Regions from separate parts of the Homo sapiens genome. Here regions 1 and 3 are each linked to region 2. The links are contacts of gene promoters, found by promoter capture Hi-C in blood cells and fetal thymus (Javierre and others, 2016). All regions are on one chromosome and are shown on one strand. The core of a region is centred on a gene start or on the middle of the fragment in contact, and the rest is flanking DNA. Distances in the headings are between cores, read along the strand shown.

Region 1 (4,366 bases), core at 596-3,095, 630 kb before region 2:
GGCAAGCTCTAGGTTCCCAATCTCCTCCTCCTCATTTTCTTGAAGAGACTAAAGTATAACCAAATAATAAAAAGATAGGCATCTTTTTCAAATACAAATCTAAATGTATAACTTAGCGTAGCTTAAAAAAAGTTGATATACGATTCAAAATTTGGACTTTCTCCCTAAAATCTAGAGAATGGGTCCACATACTGTCTTAAGTCATGACCATGTCACTGATATTTTAACAGTGAAATGTTGGCTCACATACTAACACACAAGAACCCCAGGATCAAATATATCCACCCATCCTAGGCATGAATAAAGGGTCCCTAATCCATAATCAAGAGACAGTTATCTATAATAATCATGCCTAGGGCTGGGCATGGTGGGTTATGCCTATAATCCCAACACTTTGGGAGGCTGAGGCAGGAGAATAACTTGAAGCCAGGTTTGAGACCAGCCTGGGCAGCACAGCAAGACAGCCGTCTAAACAAAATAAAATTAGAGAACAAATTAGCCAGACATGGTGGCAGACATCTGGAGACCTAGCTATCTGAGAAGATGAGGCAGAAGGATTCCTTGAACCCAGGAGGCTAAAGATACAGTGAGCCCTGATCATGCCAGTGCACTCCGGCCTGGGCAGAGACAGAGATTCTATCTCTTAAAAAAATAATAATCGTGCCTAAACTAGGTAAGCTACAGTCCTGCAAACTAGCTGGGCATGTTGGCACAAGCCTGTAGTCCCAGCTACTTGAGAGGCTGAGGTGAGGCGATCACTTAAGCCCGGGTCTAGGCTGCAGTGAGCCATGATCATGATCACCCCACTGCAATCCAGCCTAGGCAACAAGAGTGAGCTCCAGTCTCCCAAAAACAGAAAAAGGCTGACAACAGTACTGAGTGGCTAACAACATACCTTGTTTTCAAGGACTGAATCATTTGGCATTTCTTCGGTCTTATCATTTTCTTTATCATCCTCTTCTGAGCCTTCAGTTTCTACAAGTAAAAATTCCTCAGTATTGAGAATATAACTAAGAACGTATTCTGACTAGTCAGAGATTCCAATACACGTCTCAACCTATATTCAGATAGGACAGGCCAGATGCTAATCCAAGTGAGTTAACACCTGAACTGAATATATCGTCAGTGGGTGCAGTCTAGTTCAAGTGTAACCTAGACTAAGAATGTGCAATCTTAGTCTATGGGTCAGACCTTCAGCAATTAAAAGGCTGAGTGTTTCTCTTATAAAAGTCAACCTGGACCATTCAGAATAAGAAACATTGGCTACTGCCTCTTATTCAATGGCTAGAAGCTCCCATTCATTCAGCCAGAAGCAGGTGGAGACCTCAGTCAGTGTTTCTGGTATCTTTAAGCCACTCATTAGATAATACTAATAGCCTGGGAAAGTACGAAAGTTAAATTATTCCAGTCCATTCTGATCAAGAATGCTCAAGAGACTAGCTTTCCCACAACAGAGATGTGGAGCAAAAAGCATAGTCCTTACCGACTTACACCAATGAGCATGCCACAGACTCCAGCCAGCTCTAGCACATACAGAATTTGAGTAAGGAATACTATAACCCCTATTTTACTCCTATACCTTTGCTAATGACACCTCTAAAATCTGCAGCCATATATCAACACCATATTTCACCATATTGAATACACTCACAAGTCAACCATCTAAAGGTCAGGCTCCTAATCAATAGCGCTACTGTGATTAGACAAATCAACAATGTTAAGTGATTAAAATAAGCTTTCTGTTAACACAAACAACTCATGAATTGGATATAATATGCCTCTCTCTGCCATCTTTCATTATGCATTTTTAACACCAGCAAAAAAGCTCAAACACTATCTCCAAACACTCTTACTATGGGAATATAAATATGGCAATTAGGACTTAGAGCAATCGTCAGGTCAAAGGAGTTTTATCAGCAGCAACCACAAAGAGATTCCGTTTTCAAAGAAGCTTAGAAAATACTTTAACAGGGTCAGGCGCGGTGACTCACGCCTGTAATCCCAGCTCTTTGGGAGGCCGAGGCGGGCGGATCACGAGGTCAGGAGATTGAGACCATCCTGGCGAACATGGTGAAACCCCGTCTCTACTAAAAAAAAAAACCAAAAAACAAAAAAATTAGCCAGGTGTGGTGGCAGGCGCATGTAGTCCCAGCTACTTGGGAGGCTGAGGCAGGAGCATGGCGTGAACCCAGGAGGTGGAGCTTGCAGTGAGCGGATTATCGCACCACTGCACTCCAGCCTGGGTGACAGAGCAAGACTCCGTCTCAAAAAAAAAAAAAAAAAAAAAAGATACTTTAACAAATTTACTGAGGACATCAGGGCATTGCCATTGATACCTGGGCACAAGTTGGGAAAGGTTTTAAAGTAATGGCAATGGCTGCCAGGCGCGGTGGCTCACACCTGTAATCCTAGCACTTTGGGAGGCCAAGGTGGGCAGATCACCAGGTCAGGAGATTGGGACCATCCTGGCTAACACGGTGAAACCCCGTCTCTACTAAAAATACAAAAAATTAGCCAGGCGTGGTGGCACATGCCTGTAGTCCCAGCTACTCGGGAGGCGGAGGCAGAACAATCACTTGAACCTAGGAGGCGGAGGTTGCAGTGAGCCTAGATCACGCCACTGCATTCCAGCCTGGGTGACAGAGCAAGACTCTGTCTCAAAAAAAAAAAAAAAAAAAAAAAAAAAAGTAATGGCGATGGCTTTCTCCTTAACCTAGCTCCCCACCATTCCTTGAAGATGGTACAGATTCCTCAAGAGGAACCAGTAATATTCTTCTGAAGCAATTATAGGAATTTTAATTTAAAAATTTGATGTAAAACTTCCAAGTAATTAAGATATTTTGTTTCAAATTAGAGGTTGTCTTCTAGTATTCTGGTATGAGTAGGAAGAGATACCAGGTAAGAATAGAAGATAACAATATCAATTTAATTTTTCCTACAAATTGGGAAGATGAAGTATTTACTTTTCTATCAATTATCCTACATATGTAAATCTACTTCAGCTTTTCTGCATATTCTGCTAGAGGATGGGCAGAGTTAATAAGACCATCCATCTGGTCTAACTTTGGGGAACTAAGCCCGGACCCACTTGGAAATGTGGATATGAGAAGATAATGGTGTATGGTGGGCCAGGTGCAATGGTTCACACCTGTAATCCCAGCACTCTGGGAGGCTGAGGCTAGTGGATCACCTGAGGTCAGGAGTTCGAGACCAACCTGGCCAGCATGGTGAAATCCCATCTCTAGTAAAAATACAAAAAAATTAGTCGGGCCTGGGGACATGTGCCTTTAGTCCCAGCTACTCAGGAGGCTGACGTAGGAGAATCGCTTGAACCTGGGAGATGCAGGTTGCAGTGAGCGAGACCGCACCACTGCACCCCAGCTGGGCATGGTGATACACACCCATAGTCTCAGCTGCCTGAGAGACTGAGGGAGGAAGATGGCTTCAGCATAGGAGTTTGAGGCTGTCGTGAGCCATGACTGCGATGCCACTGTACTCCAGCCTGGCAAAAGAGCAAGACCCGATTCAAAGAGAAAAAGAACAGACCAATTATCTTTATTAGAAGCAAATGTACAGCCCAACACATGGCAAAGAGTCAAGAGGTGGCAGTAAACAGGGTTTTAATTTTTAAGTGAAAAAAACTGCTTGGAAGTTTTCTGCAGAATGGTGCTGCCACGTAAAGGGAAATAAAGCACAGAAAGTAAGTGGTTGAGTACTCAAGCCAGAAGTTTGGGTAGCAGGCTTCTCCTTACTGTGTGACTAGGGCAAGTTACTTAAACCCCTTTCTCCCATTTCTTCTTTTGTAAAATATGGAAAACTGTATTGTCTTTACAAGCAGAACAGTATCTGATATACAACACCAAAAAATGCAGCATATGAAAAGCCTGGGGCTTTTAAAATATAGTTAACTTTTTAAATAAGTGACAGATTTTTTTTTTCTTTTGGAAGACAGAGACTCGCTGTGTTGCCCAGGCTGGAGCACAGCGGCATGATCTCAGCTCACTGCAACCTCTGCCTCCCGGGTTCAAGCGATTCTTCTGGTTCAGCCTCCCAAGTAGCTGGGACCACAGGCGCATGCCACCACGTCCAGCTAATTTTTGTATTTTTAGTAGAGTCAAAGTTTCAACATATTGGCCAGGCTGGTCTCAAACTTCTGACCATGTGATCTGCCCACCTCGGCCTCTCAAAGTGCTGGGATACAGGTGTGAAGCTACTGCGCCCAGCCCACGACAAAATTTCTAAGCAGTGGGTGTAGGAAAAGGATGAACACTGTCTTCTTCAATGTGTGGTAACTTGGGAAGAATAATATATTCAAGGCAGATCTGGGTTCAGATTCAGTATTATGACCCTAAACAAGTCATGTAAC
Region 2 (4,309 bases), core at 1,456-3,955:
CAGAGTGAGACTGTCTCAAAAAAAAAAAAAAATTAATTAATCGAAAAAAAAGGAAGCTTTCAAAAGATTAGGAAATTGCAGGAATGCATGGGAAAAAGAGAATGGCCATTGGTCCTGTTATCTAGTGCAACTTGATAAACCACTCCAAACCGTAGAGCTTAGAACAACAATTATTTTATTATCTATTCGTCATTTTTTAATATTTATTTTATTTACTTAGAGATCCTGTCTCTTTGTTACCCAGGCTGAAGTGCAGTGATACCATATTGGCTCACTGCCACCTCTGCCTCTTGGGCTCCAGCGATCCTCCTGCCTCAGCCTTCCAAGTAGCTGGAACCCCACAGCGCGGCACCACACCTGACTAATTTTTGTATTTTTAGTAGAGAGGGTGTTTCACTACGTTGCCCAGGCTAGTCTCGAACTCCTGGGCCCAAGGGATCCATCCGCCTCACTTCCTAAACTTCTGGGATTACAAGCGTGAGCCACCGCACCTGGCCTATTATTGTTTTGTTAAAAGCAGGGTCTCGGCTTTGCAAATGCAGCCACCGACGCCAGGAGCTCTGTACGATCAGCCATGGTTAACCCCACCGTGTTCGACATCGCTGTCGACGGCAAGCCCTTGGGCCGCGTGTCCTTCGAGCCGTTTGCAGACAAGGTTCCAAAGGCAGCAGAAAACTTTCGTGCTCTGAGCAATGTAGAGAAAGGATTTGGTTATAAAGGTTCCTGCTTTCACAGAATTATTCCAGGGTTTATGTGTCAGGGTGGTGACTTCACATGCCATAATGGCACTGGTGGCAAGTACACCTGCGGGGAGAAATTTGATGACGAGAGCTTCGTCCTAAAGCATACACATCCTGGCATCTTGTCCATGGCAAATGCTGGACCCAACACAAATGGTTCCCAGTGTTTCATCTGCACTGCCAAGACTGAGTGGCTGGATGGCAATCCTGTGGTCTTTGGCAAGGTGAAAGAAGGCATGAATATTGTGGAGGCCATGGGGCACTTTGGGTCCGAGAATGGCAAGACCAGCAAGAAGATCACCATTGCTGACTGTGGACAACTCTAACAAGTTTGGCTTTTGTTTTATCTTAACCACCAGACCATTCCTTTTGTAGCTCAGAAGAGCACCCCTTCACCCCATTTGCTTGCAGTATTTTTTTTTTTTTTTTTTTTTGAGACGCTGTCTCACCCTGTCGCCCTCTCCCAGGCTGAAGTGCAGTGGCACGATCTCGGCTCACTGCAACCTCCACTTCCCGGGTTCAAGCAATTCTCTTTCCTCAGCCTCCCGAGTAGCTGGGACTACAGGCGCACGCCGCCATGCCTGGCTAATTTTTTCTTTCTTTCTTTCTTTCTTTTTTTTTTTTTTTTTGTATTTTAGTAGAGACGGGGTTTCACCATGTTGCCCAGGCTGATCTTGAACTCCTGAGCTCAGGCAATCTGCCTGCCTCGGCCTCCCAAAGTGCTAGGATTACAGACGTGAGCCACCACGCCCGGCCTGCTCGCAGTATCTTATCTTTGTGCTCTTGCTGCAGTTCCCTTTGGGTTCCATGTTTTCCTTGTTCCTTTCCATGCCTAACTGGATTGCTGAGTTAAGTTTATGATTATGAAATAAAAACTAAATTAAAAAAAAAAAACAGGGTCTCACTCTGTCGTCTAGGCAGGAGGAGTGCAGTGGCCCGATCATAGCTCACTGCAGCCTCGAACTCCTGGGCTCAAGCGATCCTCCCGTTTCAGCCTCCTGAGCAGCTGGGACTACAGGCACACACTACCATGCCCAGCTAATTTTTACTTTTGTAGAGACTGGAGGCTCTCTCGCACAGGCTGGTCTTGAACGCCCGGTTTCAAGCAATCCTCCCACCTCGGCTTCCCAAATTGCGGAGATTACAGGCATGAGCCACCATGCCCAGCCGCCCCCAGTTTTGATGGCTAAAGTTAACGTGAGTGGCCCTGTTACAAATAGGAAGTCCCGGGCCGGGCGCGGTGGCTCACGCCTGTAATCCCAGCACTTTGGGAGGCCGAGGCGGGCGGATCACGAGGTCAGGAGATCGAGACCATCCTGGCTAACACAGTGAAACCCCCGTCTCTACTAAAAATACAAAAAAATTAGCCGGGCATGGTGGCAGGCGCCTGTAGTCCCAGCTCCTCGGGAGGCTGAGGGAGGAAAATGGCGTGAACCCGGGAGGCCGAGCTTGCAGTGAGCCGAGATCGCGCCACTGCACTCCAGCCTGGGCGACGCAGAGCGAGACTCCGTCTCAAAAAAAACAAAAAACAAACAACAACAACAACAACAACAAAAACAAATAGGAAGTCCTGGCAACCCCTGCAGGGGCATTCGGTGATTTTTTTCACTAGCTAGCCAAAATTGCGGCTCCCAATGAGCTTTCTTTCACCGAATGTACTCGAAGCCAGGTCTTAGACTTACTCCCTGAGGAAAGAGGCTGAGTTGTTCCGTCTGGGTTCCCGGCACCCTGCACTGGGAGGAATACTCAAAAGGCGTTGGTAATGTGTTAATGGACAGAGGGACACACGTGTCGAATGCTCCTCGGTGGCCCCGCCCCCTCCGGCCCGCCTTCCCTCCTCTCCGCTGAGTGTGCTTCCCCTCCGTCATCCATCGCTCGGCGGTCTTCTCTTCTCCATGGGTCTGCTCTGCGCGTTCCATCGAGTTTCTCGGCCATCGCGCGCCTGCGCCATTGGGCTGTCAGTCAGAGGCGGCGTGGAGATCGCTGGGAGCGGTTGCGGCGTGCCGGGAGCTGAGTTATAGCTGTGACTTCTGCCCTGCCAGGCCGCACACAAGCTGGCTGACCCGGGTGAGCAGTGCGGTGGGGCCACTCATCTGAGGGAGGCGGGCATGTCGAACTGGGCCGAGGTGGACCCGAAGGGGTAGGAGAGGGTGCTGAGCCCCGAAGTTGTCAGCTCGACTCCCTGCTCGACCCGGTGTAGCTGTGTCCGAAGTAGAAGGGAGGTTGGGGATGAGAATCCGAGCCAACCACCTTATGCAACAGATGGAGGAACTAAGTTTCTAATCTCAGCTACTCGAGAGTCTGAGGCAGGAGAATCGTTTGAACCCAGGAGGTGGAGGTTGCAGTGAGCCTAATTCGCGCCACTGCACTCCAGCCTGGGCAACATAGTGAGACTCTCCGTTTCAAAAAAAAAAAAAAAAAGAAAAGAAAAGAAAGAAACGAAGTTTCGGGGAGGGTTCTGCTTAAAGTCACAGCGAGTGAGCGAGCACCAGACCGGTACCAGACGCCTTTAGCACTGTGCCTGCACTCTTTCAGCCTCAGCCCTTCATTCATTTGTTCAGCCTGCCTTTAGTTGTTTGGATGCAGGGCAGTGAAATATAGGGAGGAGCAGTGAGGTCTCTGCCTTCAGGCAGCACACGTGGAATGACAGACCAATTCTGATACAGTTTTCTTATCTATTTACAACTGGAAAAGGCATGAGTGCTATGATGCAGGCAAGTCTGAGATGCGGTGAACACCCTCTCCAAAGCTTGGGAGGCAGCGAGACTCGTTGCCATGATTCCCGTCAGCCATAGTCGTGGCAGTGACATGAGCATTTGACAGTCTGCCTGGTAGCATGATTAGTTATGTTCATGATTACTATTCATGCTTCCTAGGTTGCCTTTCTTCACCCAGGGCCTCCTTGAGAGCTGGAACCTCAGTTCCTAGTGACCTGGGTTCTAATGCCCTTATGCACATGTTTGAGTTTGACTCTTATACAGTTGTGAAGTTCACAGGTCCTCATTCCACTTTGATTTCTGGCATCTGACTGGGAATACAGTGATGATGCACACACAGTCCAAGAAAGTCACTCTTACACTCTTATGTAGACATTTAAGAGACATTAATGTTACACTTAAGTAGACATTTAAACACATACGTGCAATGAAACCCGTAAAGGCTAAGAGAATCTGCACATGGCAGAATGGAAGCACTTCGGGAAAAGGAGTCACTTCTGGAGGGGTGGGAACGGTTAGGAATGGCTTTGTAGGCAAGAGGATTCTTGAGCTGTCTTCAAAGTTTAATAGGTGATTACTAGACACAAGAGAAAGGCAGACTAGGAAGCAACAGTAGCAGTGCAGAGACCAGAATTATGAAGCAGCATGGCTCAATTAGTACGAAGGTTTTCCATAATCTAGTCTCTGTCTAGTAAAGCAAATACAAATATAGTGCTTCTCATAAGATGGACATTATTGGCCGGGCGCGGTGGCTCACGCCTGTAATCCCAGCACTTTGGGAGGCCGAGGCGGGTGGATCATGAGGTCAGGAGATCGAGACCATCCTGGCTAACAAGGTGAAACCCCGTCTCT
Region 3 (3,747 bases), core at 596-3,095, 530 kb before region 2:
TTTGTGGAATAGAGGCCAGGTGCGGTGGCTCGCGCTTACATTCCTAGCACTTTGGGAGGCCAAGGCGGGCGGATCACCTGAGGTCAGGCGTTGGAGACCAGCCTAGCCAACATGATGAAACCTCGTCTCTACTAAAAATACAAAAAATTAGCTGGGCGTGGTGGTGCGTGCTTGTAGTCCCAGACACTCCGGAGGTGAGGCGGGAGAATCGCTTGAGCCCGGGAGGTGGAGGTTGCAGTAAGCCAACACCGTGCCACTGCACTACAGCCTGGGCGACAGGGTGAGTGAGACTCCGTCTCAAAAAAATGTGGAATAGAACAAACTTTAGTTTTAGGAACTAGACTTTATATTGTAGATCTAGTTGCAATTGACACGTCCTTGTTTTATGGGAGGCTACATACTTTAAAGGTTTCCAGGGGAGCAAATAATTAATTATGATTTTGTGTATGTGTGTTTGTGGGGGGTAGTCATCAGGAAATGTCTGAGGCCTTTTGCCTTACCGTGTGGGTCTGGCTAATGTGTAATGTTTTGACTCAAGATTGTAAAGTCAAATTATTCATCCGGGGAGAGGATGGTCGTGTAACTGAATCAGCCTCCCAAGATGAACTTTCCCTCTGGCGTAAGTTTAGGAGTCCTGATATTTTATTTTCCTTTACAACAGAAAGCAGCAACCCTGTAATTAAAGAGAACAATGAAGGAAGCTATCTAAGCCATGAGGGTTACTGAGGATCTGCGCTGGGGTTAAGGCTGCGAACTTAAGAAATATTTGGATAGACAGTTCTCATGGCTTGGTGTGGTTAGACGTGGTCCTCCGTGGGCAGCAGCTAAGACGCTTACTCCAGTTTGGGCATTGAGGGCACAGTGCGTAGTGGTCCTGGAAGTAAAGAGAATCCTGGTTTTCCGCAGAGATCTAGGATTAACCTAAGCGTTCGGGTTCGGGAGCGGCCACAAGGGCGCCTCACTCCAACCTCAGCCATCCGCAACAGGGTGGGGTATTAGTATTTTTCCGCACCCGCCCCAACGAGGGAAAGCGCCGAGTCATTCCGGCGGGGCGCGCCGGGCGGGGCTCGGGCCACATCCCCCTCCTCTCTCTCCTCCTCCGGCACCCCCGTCCGTTCCGACTCTCGCGAGATCCCTACTGGCTATAAAGGCAGCGCCCCGGAGAGCTCTTGCGCGTCTTGTTCTTGCCTGGTGTCGGTGGTTAGTTTCTGCGACTTGTGTTGGGACTGGTGAGTGTGGGCAGTGCGGCCCCTGCGGAGTGAGGCGCGGCGCGCCCTTCTTGCCTGTTGCCTCTTCCTCCTCCTGTCCGGGGCCCGCCCGCGCTCGGGTGGGGGTGCTGTGATGCGTGAGGCAGCCGGGGGAGGCCCGGAGTCCGAGACTGCTTGAGCGCTGCGCACACCCCTCTCGTGGGCCCCCCACGTAGGTGCGGGAACCTGGTTGAACCCCAAGGCAAGCGTGGACTCGAGTCGAGTCTTCCCCCGGCAACTCGAGCACGTGGCGCGGCGTCTGGGCGGGCTGGTGGTGGGGGTCTCCGAGACTAGCCTCCTGCCGGACGGGGTGGGTTCGGGAAGCTTCTGGAATGGACCTGTATCCAGACTCGTGGCTGTAGAAGACAGCCTCTATGTATTTGGCTGTTCCGGGTCCTGAGCCTTGACTAGCTGCGGAGCTTCGGGTACCCTTTCCCCGTCTTTATTTTCCTGTACGTGGAATGGAGTTAGCGATGAGCCCAAATGTCCCCGCTGAAGCACTCTCTCTGCTGGTGCTTTCTCCAGTGCTGGGGAGGGACAGGGGGCACCTGAAGTGGGGTTTAGGGATGTGGCCCTCTACGCTGGGCAGATCCCCTGAAGGGGCCCGGTGGCGGCCTGAATCCCAGCAGCCTTTACCCCGAATTGGTTGGGTTTTGTACTTGGGGGCCACTTGGGAAAGAAGGATTGGACGAGAAGGCCATTTGGGGGCACCAAGTTGCAGCATGCCTTAGTTTTTGGTTTTTGTTTTTTGTCGTTAAAGGTGTTAAGGACTTTTTAAAAAACAGTTAAAAGTTTGCTAAGATCCATGCTTACAAAATTTCTTTTGCTTGTGGTATTGTGAACTAAGAACTTTGGGACTTGGAAAAGCTTTCAGACCGCGGCTTAGTGGGTTAAATCTCTGTTTTTTGAGCTAGAGTCTCGCTCTGTCGGCCAGGCTGGAGTGCAGTGGCGCGGTCTCGGCTTACTGCAACCCCTGTCTCCCGAATTCAAGCAATTCTTCTGCCTCAGCCTTAGGAGTAGCTGGGATTACAGGCTTGTGCCACCAAGCCCCGGCTAATTTTTGTATTTTTTTTTTTTTTTTTTTTTTGAGACGGAGTCTCGCTCTGTCGCCCAGGCTGGAGTGCAGTGGCTGGATCTCGGCTCACTGCAGCCTCCGCCTCCCGGGTTCACGCCATTCTCCTGCCTCAGCCTCCCGAGTAGCTGGGACTGCAGGCGCGTGCCACCACCCCCGGCTAATTTTTTGTATTTTTGTTAGAGACGGGGTTTCACTATGATGGCCAGGCTGGTCTCGAACTTCTGACCTCAGGTGATCTGCCTGCCTCGGCCTCCCAAAGTGCTGGGATTACAGGCTTGAGCCACAGCGCTTGGCCAAGATCTCAATACTAATCTTGGTGTTGATCTGGGTGAATCCAGTGCAACCTTCCTTTTCAGCAGTAAATTGATTCTTATACTTGTTTTCGCCCTGGGATATTAGCCCCAAAGTCAGGAACCCACCTTCACAAATGGTGAAGGGAATTCTAGGGCTTACACAATACCTAAAGATTTGAAATTAAGCAGATGCCAATCAATATCTTGGTCTTGCCTCTTTTTTTTTTTTTTTTTTTTGGAGACAGAGTCTCACTCTGTTGCCCAGGCTGGAGTGCAGTGGCGCGATCTCAGCTTACTGCAACCTCTGCCTCCCGGGTTCAAGTGATTCTCCTGCTTCAGCCTCCTGAGTAGTTGCGATTACAGGCATGCACCACCACGCCCGACTAATTTTTGTGTTTCTAGTAGAGACGGGGTTTCACCATGTTGGCCAGACTGGTCTCGAACTCCTGACCCGGTGATCCGCCCGCCTGAGCCTCTCAAAGTGCTGGGATTACAGGTGTGAGACACTGCGCCCAGTGGTCTTGCCTCTTAAAAGTTGGACTGACTGGAAGGGCGCGGTGGCTCACGCCTGTAATCCCAGCATTTTGGGAGACTGAGTTGGGCAATCATCTGAGGTGAGGAGTTTGAGACTAGCCTGACCAACATGGAGAAATCCCGTCTCTAATAGAAGTACAAAAAAATTAGCCGGGTGTGGTGGCCTGCGCCTGTAATCCCAGCTACTATGGAGGCTGAGGCAGGAGAATCCCTTGAACCTGAGAGGTGGAGGTTGCAGTGAGCCGAGATAATGCCATTGCATTCCAGCCTGGGCCCCAAGAGCGAAACTCCGTCAAAAAAACAAAACAAAACAAAAACAAATAAAACAAGTTGAATTAGTTATAGGTTGTGTGCTGTCTTGGACAAAGCTACCTGGAGAAAAGTCAAATATGCTTCTGATGTTATGAAGGCAGGTGGAGGCACAGTGATGGGAAAGGTCAACGTGACTTTTGGGGAGCCAAACAAAAGTGTTTGTGGCATTGTGCATTTGGATTCTGGTTTGAGAGTCTTCATCTGCCTCTCTCTCTGCTTCTGTATAATGAATAAGATGCCACTGCACTAATTATGGTTCAGAAAGAATGAGAGGTTATCTCAGTAT

Evidence for each region. Contacts are between HindIII fragments. The CHiCAGO score rates a contact against its expected background, and 5 or more counts as called.
Region 1: a contact is called between a fragment that was not itself captured here and the fragment with the promoter of EIF2B3 in region 2, in 2 of 17 cell types (naive CD4 T cells and total B cells). The highest score is 6.1, in naive CD4 T cells.
Region 3: a contact is called between a fragment that was not itself captured here and the fragment with the promoter of EIF2B3 in region 2, in 2 of 17 cell types (naive CD4 T cells and total CD8 T cells). The highest score is 6.0, in naive CD4 T cells.

The regions. Positions count from the first base shown.
Region 1 is chr1:45,609,778-45,614,143 of GRCh38, reverse strand. It overlaps NASP (nuclear autoantigenic sperm protein), which reads right to left. Exons shown (of 15, transcript NM_002482.4): 7 at 896-975; 8 at 1-48. Among named protein-coding and RNA genes, the nearest start is that of CCDC17, 12 kb to the left of the region's middle. The HindIII fragment of the contact is 216 bases long and covers 1,738-1,953 here.
Region 2 is chr1:44,984,991-44,989,299 of GRCh38, reverse strand. EIF2B3 (eukaryotic translation initiation factor 2B subunit gamma) reads left to right here and starts at 2,705. Exons shown (of 12, transcript NM_020365.5): 1 at 2,705-2,807. It also overlaps the pseudogene PPIAP35. RefSeq lists enhancers at 2,362-2,411, 2,122-2,703, 2,662-2,931 and a silencer at 2,482-2,571. The HindIII fragment of the contact is 3,433 bases long and covers 59-3,491 here.
Region 3 is chr1:45,519,311-45,523,057 of GRCh38, reverse strand. PRDX1 (peroxiredoxin 1) reads left to right here and starts at 1,174. Exons shown (of 6, transcript NM_181697.3): 1 at 1,174-1,229. RefSeq lists an enhancer at 696-775 and a silencer at 1,818-1,980. The HindIII fragment of the contact is 543 bases long and covers 1,574-2,116 here.